Linked DNA regions of Homo sapiens: all the other regions are linked to region 2. The links are contacts of gene promoters, found by promoter capture Hi-C in blood cells and fetal thymus (Javierre and others, 2016). All regions are on one chromosome and are shown on one strand. The core of a region is centred on a gene start or on the middle of the fragment in contact, and the rest is flanking DNA. Distances in the headings are between cores, read along the strand shown.

The links. Contacts are between HindIII fragments. The CHiCAGO score rates a contact against its expected background, and 5 or more counts as called.
Region 1: the fragment with the promoter of SRRT here is called in contact with the fragment with the promoter of MCM7 in region 2 in 1 of 17 cell types (neutrophils); the score reaches 6.0 in neutrophils.
Region 3: a fragment that was not itself captured here is called in contact with the fragment with the promoter of MCM7 in region 2 in 1 of 17 cell types (fetal thymus); the score reaches 5.2 in fetal thymus.

Annotation. Positions count from the first base shown.
Region 1 is chr7:100,872,811-100,877,099 of GRCh38, reverse strand. SRRT (serrate, RNA effector molecule) reads right to left here and starts at 1,997. Exons shown (of 20, transcript NM_015908.6): 1 at 1,772-1,997; 2 at 1,388-1,527. The coding sequence starts at 1,509. It overlaps TRIP6 (thyroid hormone receptor interactor 6), which reads right to left. Exons shown (of 9, transcript NM_003302.3): 9 at 3,646-3,928. The coding sequence ends at 3,797. RefSeq lists a silencer at 1,516-1,745 and enhancers at 1,886-1,945, 2,156-2,205, 1,782-2,447, 2,448-3,112. The HindIII fragment of the contact is 10,507 bases long and covers 1-4,289 here.
Region 2 is chr7:100,099,645-100,103,722 of GRCh38, reverse strand. MCM7 (minichromosome maintenance complex component 7) reads left to right here and starts at 2,326. Exons shown (of 15, transcript NM_005916.5): 1 at 2,326-2,459; 2 at 3,630-3,709; 3 at 3,970-4,078. The coding sequence starts at 2,429. It overlaps AP4M1 (adaptor related protein complex 4 subunit mu 1), which reads right to left and starts at 2,080. Exons shown (of 15, transcript NM_004722.4): 1 at 1,951-2,080; 2 at 1,755-1,843; 3 at 942-1,048; 4 at 763-859; 5 at 204-314; 6 at 31-111. The coding sequence starts at 2,008. RefSeq lists enhancers at 2,002-2,051, 2,074-2,626, 2,972-3,131 and a silencer at 2,762-2,861. The HindIII fragment of the contact is 6,263 bases long and covers 1-4,078 here.
Region 3 is chr7:99,559,241-99,563,423 of GRCh38, reverse strand. It overlaps ZNF655 (zinc finger protein 655), which reads right to left. Exons shown (of 3, transcript NM_138494.3): 2 at 2,729-2,891. The coding sequence starts at 2,864. Among named protein-coding and RNA genes, the nearest start is that of ZNF655, 2.7 kb to the right of the region's middle. The HindIII fragment of the contact is 1,706 bases long and covers 1,761-3,466 here.

The sequences.
Region 1 (4,289 bases), core at 748-3,247, 770 kb before region 2:
TTGGTAAAGCATCAGCGGTTTTACCCATCATTGCTATGGCACCAACAGTGGAAATGGCAATAATATGTAAACATTACCACAAAAACTAATTTTAGCCTCGGAGACCCCCTATGGTCTGTGGACATCCTGAGAAACAGGACTCTAACCAAACTAGAATATGCTAAAATCACACGTTATGTCCACAACTCCAAGCTGTTCATGTCACTCGTGTCTGGGGAATTCCCACTCATCTTTCCAAGTCTAGCCAAGTGTCACTTTCCAGTGGGTCCCTGACACACAACCTCCAGCACCGCTCCCCTCCTTTAGAGATCTGTTCCCTCAATGCTTACCCTCTTTATAACTTCCACTATATATACTCATTTACAGAATACATCCACTGCCATTCTGATCCCCCATGCCAAGCTCACTGTAACACCCTAAGGTCAATAACCACATCTTATAATCAATCCAATCAGCACCGCCCTATGAACTCTGAGATTTTAGGCAAAACAGTGACAAGAAACCTAATCATATATTGTCAGGGAAATAATCTGACGACCTCTCCAGTCAGATCAACTCTATATTATTATTTTTCTGAAGCAATCCTCCTAAAATATAATTTACAACCTGGGCAACAGAGCAAGACGCTGTCTCTACAAAAAATAATTTTAGACCAAGCACTGGCTCATGCCTGTAATCCCAGCACTTTGGGAGGTCGAGCTGGGTGGATTACCTAAAGTCGAGAGTTCCAAACCAGCCTAGCCAACATGGTGAAACCCCGTCTCTACTAAAAATACAAAAATTAGACGGGCGTGGTGGCAGGTGCCTGTAATCCCAGCTACTCGGGAGGCTGAGGCAGGAGAATTACTTGAACCCCAGAGGCGAAGGTTGCAGTGAGCCAAGATTGCGCCATTGCACTCCAGCCTGGGCGACAGGGCAAGACTCTGTCTCGAAATAACAATAATAATTTTTAAAAGTTAGGCGGGCGTGATGGCCTCCCCCTGGAGTCCCAGCTTCTCAAGAGGCTGAGGCGGGAGGCTCGGTTGAGCCCGGGAGGTGGAGGCTGCTACGACTGCATCAATGCACTCCAGCCAGGGCAGCAGAACAAGACCCCATCTCAATAACAAAACAAAAAAAAGCAAAAAAGCACGCTTTTCGTGCATGTATAAACAGTGCTTCTTCATACTCAAACTCTTAGCTCTATAGCTCTGATCTGCAGAGAATTTCAAAAACCAAGCCACAGCTAGTTATTTGGCCAACAGCAAATAGGCTGAACCACAGAAAACGGTCCAATGAGCCATTTCATAGGATTCGCCCTCATAAAAATTACAAGGGGGAGAAAGAAAAGCGACGCGGGTGGAGTGAAACGGCATGAAACGGGGACAAGATGAAGTTAAAAACGGCTCACCTGTCATTCCAATCGTCCCCTCGACGTCTTTCATCTCTCTCGCGGGAACGGTCGTAGTCGCTGCGCTCTCTTCTGAACTTGTCCCTGCGCCTTCGATCGTACTCGTCATCACTGTCACCCATGGCACGGTCTGAGGGGGCCTGGGGACCGGGGAGAGGCGGTAGGAGTGGTGCAAAAGGACGAGCGGAGGAAGGGACCGTCCCTCGCGGGCAGCTCGCCCGCTTCCCTCCCGCCAAGGCCAGCCCTCCGCGGCCCCCACCATCCTAGGCCTGAGAACGCGGCTCCAACACCTCCACTCGCCCCGAGTTTCTCCGCGCCCGCCCCCGTGGACCCCGGTTCCTCTCCCGCCCCAGCGGGGCCCCCCAGGCTCCTCCCCTCCCCCACCTTGGTGCGGCCGCGGCCGTTGGACTCGCGCTCGGACGGGCTAGATTTCAGGGCGACCTGGGTCGCGGGCGCGCGACGAGGACTTCGAGGAGGGCGAGACGGAGACGGAGCTCTTGAGTAGAGGGCCGAAGAGAGGCGAACAAAAGTGGGACAACCGGGGATGGGCAGTAGCGCGCGCAGCCCGCGCTGCGCCTGCGTCACCCACGCCTCCGAGGCACAAAGCTCCACCCTCGCGGCCGGAACTGGAACTAACAAACCGAGCGCGAAGGGCGGGGAGAGCAGGGCGTGATGGGAAAGGGGCGGGGATCTCGCAAGTCTCGCGCGGCTTTTCGAGACGATAACGGCTCGAGCGTTAGGAACTACGGGACCTCGGCTGGGCCAAGCGCGGCCTCGGGAGGCGAACAAGCCCTCTGGGCGCGAAGGGAGAGCGGAAGTCGAGGATCGCGCGACCCCAGATGTGTCGGGGTCCTAAGACGGTTCTCATCCAGCCATGTTCCCCCCACGGGCCTCCTGACCTCACCGGGGGTGATTTCGTCCCCTCCTCGGGCAGGGCGTGGGCTTGGGAAGCGCGGGCGCTTAGGGGATGGAAGGTGGAAGCAACCATTTTAAAGCATCGTATCCCACCATTTTCTGCTCCAAATATCCAGCCAAAATTGGGTGCCACAGTGCGCACTAAATGCAAAGTCCGCCGTTCCTGCTTTTCCTCGACAAAGACGCCCCGTCTTTAAGTAAAATTGGCAGATCTCAGTCTTAACCCCGCTCAGTATTTGGATGAAATAGGCTGTAAGTTAACGCCCTAAACAGAGTATGGACCGCCCAGATTCAATGGATTACCACCCCCGGGAGTAACACCAAGGCCCCTCTCAGTGAATTGAGTGTGAGACTTAATAGGAAGACCAGCTGAGATGGCTCACGCCTGCAATCCCAGCGCTTTGGGAGGCCGACGTGGGAGAATCACTTGAGCCCAGGAGTTGGAGACCTGCCTGGGCAACATAGCAAGGCCCCTTTACAGAATATTTAGGGCCAGGCACATTGGCTCACACCTGTGATCCCAGCACTTGGGAAGGTCGAGGAGGGAGGACTTAAGCCCAAGAGTTCAGGACTAGCCTGGGCAACATAGCAAGATCCCATCTACACACAAAAAAATAATAACTGGGCTTGGTGGGATGCCCCTGTGGTCCTAGCTACTGGGGAGGCTAAGCCAGGAGGACTGTTTGAGCCCAGGAGTTCAGGGCTGCAGTGAGCCTTGATTGCACCACTGCACTCTAGCCTGGGGAACAGAGTGAGGCCCTGTCTCAAAATAGATACATAGAGGAAATCTTGCCTCCTCCCTGAGGCGTGCTTGCTCCCAGCACTGAGAGGAGGGTAGTGACGGATTACAAGAGTTGTCAAAAAAAACTGGACCTGAGTCAAAAAGACCCAGGTTCCACCATTTAAGAACCATGCAATCTGGGGGAGTCACCTCTCAGCTCTGACATCCTCACATGTAAAAATGCAGACAGTGGCCAAGGGCGGTGGCTCACGCCTGTAATCCCAGCACTTTGGTTGGGTGAAGCGGGCAGATCACTTGAGGTCAGGAGTTCAAGACCACCCTGACCAAGGTGGTGAAACCCCGTCTCTACTAAAAATACAAAATTAGCCAGACGTGGTGGCGGGCGCCTGTAATCCCAGCTACTCAAGAGGCTGAGGCAAGAGAATCACTTGAACCTGGGAGGCAGAGGTTGCAGTGAGCCGAGATGGCACCACTGCATTCCAGCCTGGGTGACAGAGCCAGACTCCGTCTCAAAAAAAAAAGAAAAAAAATGCAGGCAGTAACAATGACTGGGCCTGTAATGGGCTACTGGGAGAATCAGATGAGACAACAGACTTGGAAGTGTTTTGTAAACTCGAGGGATTATTATTTCTTGATTGGAGAAAGAGAAGACAGCATTTGGTGACAAAGTCATACAGGTGGATGTCAGGGAGAGTGATCAATCAAAGGATGGGAACTGGAACTGAGAACCCAGCAGGTACTTCTAGGAAGACTCAGCAGTCAGTGGTGACGGTGGCTGAGAGCTCCTGGATGCGCCAGGCGCTGCAGGCCTTGCACAAGATGTGCCCATCCAGCGGGTAGCAGCCCTGACACTCGCCCTCAGAGGAGAGCAGCAGCCCACACTCCTGTTGAAAAAGAAGCAACAATTGGCCGGGCGCGATGGCTCACGCCTGTAATCCCAGCACTTTGAGAAGCCGAGGCAGGAGGATCACAAGGTCAGGAGTTCAAGACCAGCCTGGCCAATATGGTGAAACCCTGTCTCTACTAAAAATACAAAAATTAGCCAGGCATGGTGGCCAGCACCTGTAATCCCAGCTACTCAGGAGGCTGAGGCAGGAGAATCACTTGAACCCGGGAGGTGGAGGTTGCAGTGAGCCAAGATTGTGCCACTGCACTCCAGCCTGGGCAACAGAGCAAGACTCCGTCTCAAAAAAAAAAAAAAAAGAAAGAAGCAACAGGTTTCCATCAACCCCAGACCTCTGTGTT
Region 2 (4,078 bases), core at 1,077-3,576:
AGCGTCTGACCCCATGGATCCTTCCCTCACCTGGTCAGAGCGACTGGACAGGACGGGGCGGCTGGCTGCACTGCTGGGGGCCACTTTGCTCTGTTGTGTCTCAGCCCCAAACTGTAAAGCATCCAAAGCAATCAATCATCAGGTCTGACAACCCCAGCCAACCCCTCTTCTCTTTCCTCACCCTCCTCTTTCCCTCTACTGACCAAGCCAACGCTGCTGAGGTCAAAGAGGCTGAAGGGCTTGCTGACCACAGCTTCCGTCTGGATGAAATTCCTCAGCATCTCCGTGGATGTGGTCTGTACATAGCCATAGTCCTAGTGGTAAAGGAAGGACAGTCTGAGTGATCAGTGGAGGGAAGGGGTAAAGAGGGGGAGTGGGGCCAGGCATGGTGACTCACTCCTGTACTCTCAGCGCTTTGGAAGGCCGAGACGTAGGAGAATGGCTTGAGGCCATGAGTTCAAGACCAGCCTGGGCAACACAGTGAGACTCTAGTCTCTACAAAAAATAAACAATTAGCTAGGCACAGGGGAGGCTGGGGCAGGAGGACGGCTTGAGCCCAGGAGTTCCAGGCTGCAGTGAGCTATAACTGCACCACTGCAGTCCAGCCTGGGCAACAGAGCAAGACCCTGTCTCTAAAAGCAAAAAAAAAAAAAAAAAAAAAGGTAGACTTGGCCTCCTAACCACGGCATCCCACAGTAGAAGAGCAGATGTATCTTCAGGGGAATTGGGTAGGGGCCACAGAAGGGGATTGTTGATTCTCACCAGCACTTCATCCAGGAGTTCGTATACCAGAGCCACATTGCGGGAGATGGTCCCCTCGCCCAGGGAGCCACAGTAATCGCCCAGAAGGGTGGCCAACCTGAGGAAACACTTGGAGCGTGTATTTTCTCCTCCTCTCAGACCCCTCCTAGCTACCAGGTGCCCAGCCCAACCCTCCTCACCTGGAGAGCAGTTCTAGGAGGCTGAAGGGAGAAACGTTTTCTGAAGTTGTGACCACCAAATAGAGGCCGCTGTGTCTGATGTGAATGAAATGACGGCCATGGTGATGCTGAGACACAGGCAGGGAGAAGAGAGGCGTTAAAAAAAGGGAGGTGGAGTGATCAGAACCCAGGAGACCTGAGCTCGGATCCCGATGCCTCTTACTAGTCACAACAGCAGTGCCTTTGGGAGATACATGACATATGCCTGGGCCCAGCTTCCCAATGTGGAAAGGGGGTTAATTACACTAACTACCCCGAGTTGCTGAGGATGGAGTCACGCAGGGAGCTGGGCCTGGTGTGTTGCTGGCGCCCATTGACTCTTTTTTTTTTTTTCCCCACCCCCACCTACCCCGAGAGGGAGTCTCGCTCTGTCTCCCAGGCTGGAGTGCGGTGTCCGGATCTCGGCTCACTGCAACCTCTGCCTCTTGGATTCAAGCGATTCTCAAGCCTCAGCTTCCCGAGTAGATGGGATTACAGGCGCCCGCCACCACGCCCAGCTATGTTTTTTTTTTTTTTGTATTTTTAGTAGAGGCGGAGTTTCACCATGTTGGCCAGGCTGATTTCGAACTCCTGACCTCAGGTGATCCGCCCGCCTCGGTCTCCCAAAGTGCTGGGATTACAGGCGTGAGCCACCGCGCCGGGCCTCACGTTAGCTTTATTTGGCGGAATGCACCCCCCAAGTGGAATCTACCAATGAACCAGTCCTGGGAGGGAGCTGGCGCCCACCCGGCCCGACGGGACCCCGCTCCTCACCCGCCTCCCGCCACTGGTTACCATGACAACCGGGGACTCGTCTCCTGGCAGTCCCGTCAGCTTCCGGTAGAAGAGCTCGGCCACATCCCGGCCGCCACTGTCCCCGCGGACTGGCGGGTGGAAGGACTCAGTGAAGGATCCTGCGACACAGGCTGGCCCTGGGCGCCCCTCCCGCCCGGCCCCTCCGCCCCTTCCCAGCCCCAAGGGTCTAGGATACAGTCTTTGTAGATGAGCGGGTCCCCCTTGGAGGACAGAATGAAGAATTGGGAAATCATGGCCGTTCTGGAGAGTAGACAAGAAGACGGCGAAAGTCGGGCCTGCCCCGCCCTGCGGCCCCGGAACAAAAGAACGCGTGTGCGCTGGCCCTTTAAGAGCGATTCTCCTCCGCCCGCGCCAGCTCGGACCGCGGGAAACCCGGCGCCTGCACTACCCCGCCCGGAGATTCCCTTCCGACGCCCGCACCGCCTCCCCGTCACTCATTCTAGGCCCGCACGGTGATTGGCTTGCGGCTAGCGGGAGGTGAAGAAGGCCGCCTTGTCCGATTGGCCCGCACGCAGTGGCGCCGGTCACGTGGGGGGCGACGTTTCGCGCCAATTTCGGTTGGCCGGCCACAGTCCACCGCGCGGAGATTCTCAGCTTCCCCAGGAGCAAGACCTCTGAGCCCGCCAAGCGCGGCCGCACGGCCCTCGGCAGCGATGGCACTGAAGGACTACGCGCTAGAGAAGGGTACGGGTCTACGAGCCCGGGAGGGCGTCCTGCGCGGGGAGCCTCCCGGGGAACACCTGTTGGTGTGAGCTGGGGTCTTGGGGGACCGGGGTCGGCGGGTTCTGGGGTGCGCGAGGCCAGAGGCAGGGTCGAGCTGCGGCCTGGCTAAGGCCCACGGGGCCTGGGAAGCGTGCGGGGGGCCATCGATGTTGAAGAAAAGCTAGTAATCCCACCTGGTAAAGGTGTTAGGGTCGTGGGGTTGGGGGCTTGGGGGCGCGCTAACCCGGCTGGGGGCTGCACAGGGAAAAGTCGCGCCCAGGACCTCAGGAGAGTCTTAAGGGCTCTGGGCTCCCGTGCCCGCTTTCCTTCGCGCTTTTGGGCATTCCCAGGTTCCCGCGCCCTCCCCAGGCGCGCGTAGGCCCCGGGGGCGGGCAGGCCGGGGCCGCTGCGCGCCGGGATTGGCCGTTTGAGGCCGCCCTCCGAGCGGAAGTGGAGCCGGGCGGAAGTGGCGCGAGGAGGCTGGAGGGAGTGTCGTGTAAACAGTGTCCTTCCGCGCGGCGGCCGCGGAGAGAGCTGCGGCCCGGGGGGGCGTGCCTGGGATCCGGAGCTTCGCTCGGGCCCGGGAAAGGCGGCAGTGGGCTGGGATCGCGGTGTCTCTGGGTGTGATGGCCAATGGCTGGACTGGCTCCCGCCCTGGGCGGAGGAATCCCGAGCTGTGAAGCGGCTGGAATCCGGGCCCATGTGCTTCTTTGTTTACTAAGAGCGGAAGCGATGGCGGGAGCGGGGGTGGGGTGCGGTGGCGGGGTGCGGTGGCGGAGGTCCCGGTGAAATCAGGGGCTAAGGGGACCCAAAGAAGGCGGGGGATCATAGGGGTGGAAAGAAAGCTGAGAACCTTGAGACCGGAGTGTGAGGGGCCAACGGGGAAGGGCGCTAGAATTTTAAACTAAAGTAGGGACCGGAATTCCCCTGGGGAGATGTTGGATGGCCCTGTGCACTGCCACGGGCTCTTTATTCTTCGCTGGTTAGAAACAGACTTGTGAAAAAGAGTTATGCCCACTTTGGGGAGACTTCGGTAGGTTTATTTAAATGCTCATATTATTAATTAGTTCATAGGTCGTGTTTTAAGCGAAAATGGGTATCTAAGATTTGTCTTAAAGTTTGTGTCTTACGGTTTTACATTTCATGTTACAGAAAAGGTTAAGAAGTTCTTACAAGAGTTCTACCAGGATGATGAACTCGGGAAGAAGCAGTTCAAGTATGGGAACCAGTTGGTAAGTCTAAGATTGGGTAAAGGGAATGGGGAGCGGGGTGCTTAAGGAGCCATAAGCAGCAGCTTGGCTTGTTTTATTAAAGACATAACAATTAGAGGGTTTGAGGGCTGAAAAGCGAGTATCGCTCTGTGTGGCGCTGCGTTCTCCCCTGTGGATGCCCAGAGCCTGTGCTGAGTTCTCAGTGATGCATTTTCACATATGAACACTGGTGAGCAAAGTGAATGTGGCTCTGAGGTGTTTCTGTCTCTTCCCCACTTGAGGTTCGGCTGGCTCATCGGGAACAGGTGGCTCTGTATGTGGACCTGGACGACGTAGCCGAGGATGACCCCGAGTTGGTGGACTCAATTTGTGAGAATGCCAGGCGCTACG
Region 3 (4,183 bases), core at 1,364-3,863, 540 kb after region 2:
TCGCTTGAACCTGGAAGGCAGAGGTTGTAGTGAGTTGAGATTGCACCACTGCACTCCAGCCTGGGCAACAAGAGTGAAACTCCATCTAAAAATAAAATAAAATAAAAAATATAATATAATATAAAAAATAAACTAAAGAAAAAGGAACAATGCTCACACCAAGGGAGCTGCCGACAAACCCCACTGATGCTTCCCAGCAGCACTACAGCTTGGCTAATCCCAGCTTCCCACTGTACCTTTCAAAATGACAAGGGAGAGACATGAGTTAAGCATTGACCCCACCTCAGCATGGGGTAAACATCTGAGATTTCTGCTGCCCTGGGTGTGGTTACGTGGGATTACCATTCTGGGTGACTCACTGAAATGTACTCACAGTGAGTCATGCCTTCAAATGACATCTCAAGTTCTGCCTGCTTGGAGATACATCTGGGGATCTTAAGGGGTGAGGGACTACTCAACAAGAAGGAATTTAGCCTGTCTTTTTAAATAAACGGCATTTCTTTTTCCTAGAAAAATGGGAAATTCTTCAATTCTCTAATACAGGGACACTGAGATAACAAAGAGGAAAGTGTCTGGTTGGAGGTTGGGAGGCCACCCTGGGGTCTCTCCTACAAAAATGGAAAAGAAAAGAACGGTGAGAAATCAAGCAAAGCACAAGAAAGTTTCCCTTTGCTAAAAGGGAAAAGATGCCCCACAATGGCCATAAACATGAACTGGGGATAAGGAGGAGAATGTCTCTTCTTGGCACCCCCAAACAAACGTTAATTACCCCTCCCGGAGAAGACGATGTGAAAGATAAGGATTCAGAGGTTCTAAGTCCTGGAATCTAAGCCACACTCTACAGACCTTCTCAGAGACCTTATACTTAGGAAGAAACAAGAAAGTAAAGAAATTCAAATAGATAAACCGAATAATAAGGAAGTCCTTACCCAGTGAGACCACGTTCCCATAATTCTCTAACATCACTTCTCTGTAGAGGTCCCTCTGAACAGGGTCCAGGTATCCCCATTCCTCTCGAGTAAGGTGCACAGCCACATCCTCGAATGTCACAAACTCCTGAAATAACACATCCTGGCTGCTCTGAGGAATGAGAACACTGTAGCACCATGGCCAGAGAATGAAGATCATAGAGAGGGTATCCACTGTGTACTTACGTTGAGGAGGAGGGAGAACAGATTAGAACCTACGGAATAAAGCCCATAACCCTTAAACATCTAATAAGCACCCATCACACAACCATGGACAAAGAGAAAACAGAGTTTGCTCATGGCACTGGGGAGATGGGAAGTTGGTTTATGTGAAGTCCAGGTCTCCGAAGAGGATCAATTCCCAAACTGGAGTCTGCTATTGAAAAAAATTCCAGGCAAGGTCTACAGATGGGATGAGAGAGAGGCCACACTCCATCAGTAGCAATAGTCCCTGAGGAAAAGCAGAGGGTTCCTCAGCTCACCTGGTACCTGGCTGTCAAGAGCGCAGCTGCCTGGTCTCCTGGGCTTCCCTCACGGGGAAGAGCAGGCACCTGAGGAACAGGTGGAGCTGAGGGAGGAGAAAGGAGTGAAGAGTGAGAGCAGCCCTTTCCCAGGGCTCCCTTTCAGAGGAGGCCTCTCCAGCCCAAGGGGTGTCAGCAGGACCCTCCTCAATACTCTAGTAAAACCAATGAACATTTTTCAGGTATTGGGTGTGTCTACTCTGCTTCGTCTCAGTACTTGCATGCCTTATGCGTGTTTTGACCTGTGATACAGGATTTTCTTAGGAAAGCTTGTATTTCACTTTATCTTCATCACATGACAGTCCTCTTACAGAAGAGTAAGACTATACCTGTTTTGCAGATGGGCAAAGCAAAGCATAAAGACTTGTGGGGACTTGTCCTGGGCTAGGGTTATTTAGCAGACTTCTGACCCTTTCCAGGCACTGTTCTAGACACTTGATCAGCGTTTCTCTTGTGAATGGGTGCTGTCTCAACCAGTGTGTAAGGCCCCCAAGAACAAGAAAGGGTCATCTGTTTCCTCGAAATCTTTTCCACAGTCCCACAATCCCCCACAGCACTCTACACATTGTGGCACTTGATCTGTGTGGGTGACACACAAGTTATTTCAGGCACTAGAGTTAACCACAGGCAATCTAAGACACAGCTCTTATAAAACAAAGGAAGAAAAAGACCAACCTACCTATACGATACAGCAAAGTGTGACTGCGTAGTCAAAATACAGTATATATACATTCATACAGGCATTGTGTTCAACCAAGGAATTAAATGGTTGCTTCCTTGACCAAATTTAGTCTAGTCACAAAACACTGCAGTTACAACAGAATGGATGGCAGGTGACAAAGCAAAGAAAAACTAAGTGAAGGGAACAGGGGAAAGAAAGGTCCTGAACCTAAGAGGAAGTGAGAGCCAGGAAAGGACTGTGAGATGTGGCAAAAGCAGCATATCTTAGAAATTATTCTGGATGTGAGAACTGGGATGAAGTGAAGGTTGCCTGAAGGAAAAACCACCACAGCGAGTAAGCAGCCATCACTCTGCTTATTTGAGAAAGATGAGCTATCCTTAATAAAGGGGCTCAGACTAGGACTGAACTGAGTCACATCTGCCCCCTCTTTCATTCCTCCCTCTAGGGACCATGTTCTTATTCCAGTTCTTGGCCTCTCTCAAACCAGGCCCAGGAGCCCCCTCGGGAGCCCCTCCGCACTCCCACTCTCCCAGACGGAAGTGCTTTCTCTGCCTTACCCCCAGTGAGTCCCTGTTCCATGTCGGTGTCCTGCACAAACTGAGGCTCTGGGGACAGACACTCAGACTGGGTCTCCAAAGACTGAAACTGGACCCTTGGTGACCCTGCTGCTTCCTGGGCTGGTATTTCCTCCATCACTGCTCTGGAGGACAATGACCATCACTGCAAGGTAAGATTAAGAGAAATTACTGTAATAAGTTAAAGCATTTCATCATTTTATATCGTCAGGACTTTGCAAAGGATCTTACACACTATGGATATTCAATAAAAATTAGTTGATAATGATTAACCACCCTAAATAAGTAACAGAAAAATGGGGCCAGGCGCAGTGGCCTGTAATCCCAGCACTTTGGGAGGCTGAGGCGGGAAGATCACTTGAGGTCAGGAGTTCAAGACCAGCCTGATCAACATGGTGCAACTTCTTCTCTACTAAAAATACAAAAATTAGCCAGCGTGGTGGTGCGGGTCTGTAATCCCAGCTATTCGGGAGGCTGAGGCAGGAGAATTGCTTGAATACAGAAGGCATACGTGGCAGTGAGCCAAGATTGCACCACTGCACTCCAACCTGGGCAACACAGTGAGACTCCGTCCCAAAAAAAAAAAAAAGAAAAAAAAGAAAAAGAAATATGGATATGCTTCAGCTTTAAATACTTAAGAACCAAATCATAGAAGAGTCTCTAATTTGGAATTTGTGGCATTAAAAAAATTAACACGGTACAATTTAATAGTGTAAAGCTTTCTGTGGAAACTTTAAAATATTTAAAATTGGCCACGTGCGGTGGCTCAAGCCTGTAATCCCAACAGTTTGGGAGGCACAGACGGGTGGATCCCTTAAGCTCAGGAGTTCCAGACCGTCCTGGACAACATGGTGAAACCCCGTCCCTACAAAAAAAAAAAAAAAAAAAAAAATTAGGTGGCCCAGGCCTGTAGTTCCAGCTACTCCAAAGGCCAAGGCAGGAGAATCGCTTGAGCTTGGGAGGTAGAGGCTGCAGTGAGCTATGACTGCGCCACTGCATTCCAGCCTGTATGACAGCGTGACAGCCCACCTCAAATAAACAAAACAAAATATTTAAAATTTACAATCGTCTTTGGAGGCTCAAGTTGGTGCCCAGAGAAAAATGCTAGTTATGATTGCTCATTTTATTTTAATTTTGTTTTAGCAGAGATGGGAGTCTCGCTATGTTGCCCAGGCTGGACTCGAACGCCTGGCCTCAAGCGATCCTCCCACTTCGGCCTCCCAAAGTGCGGGGATTACGGCGTGAACCACCGTGACAGGCCCGCGTTTACGTAAATAAACTCATTTAAATAAATAAAACAGCAGGCCCCCTAGGAAATGTCTTGGTAACACCGTCAGCCCACTCCGATTTACTACACGGGCTTGGCGAATAAAACTCCACTTTTGGGGTCAGGCCCTTCGCTAACTCAGACCAGCTAGACCGGCCTTTTCCCGGAAT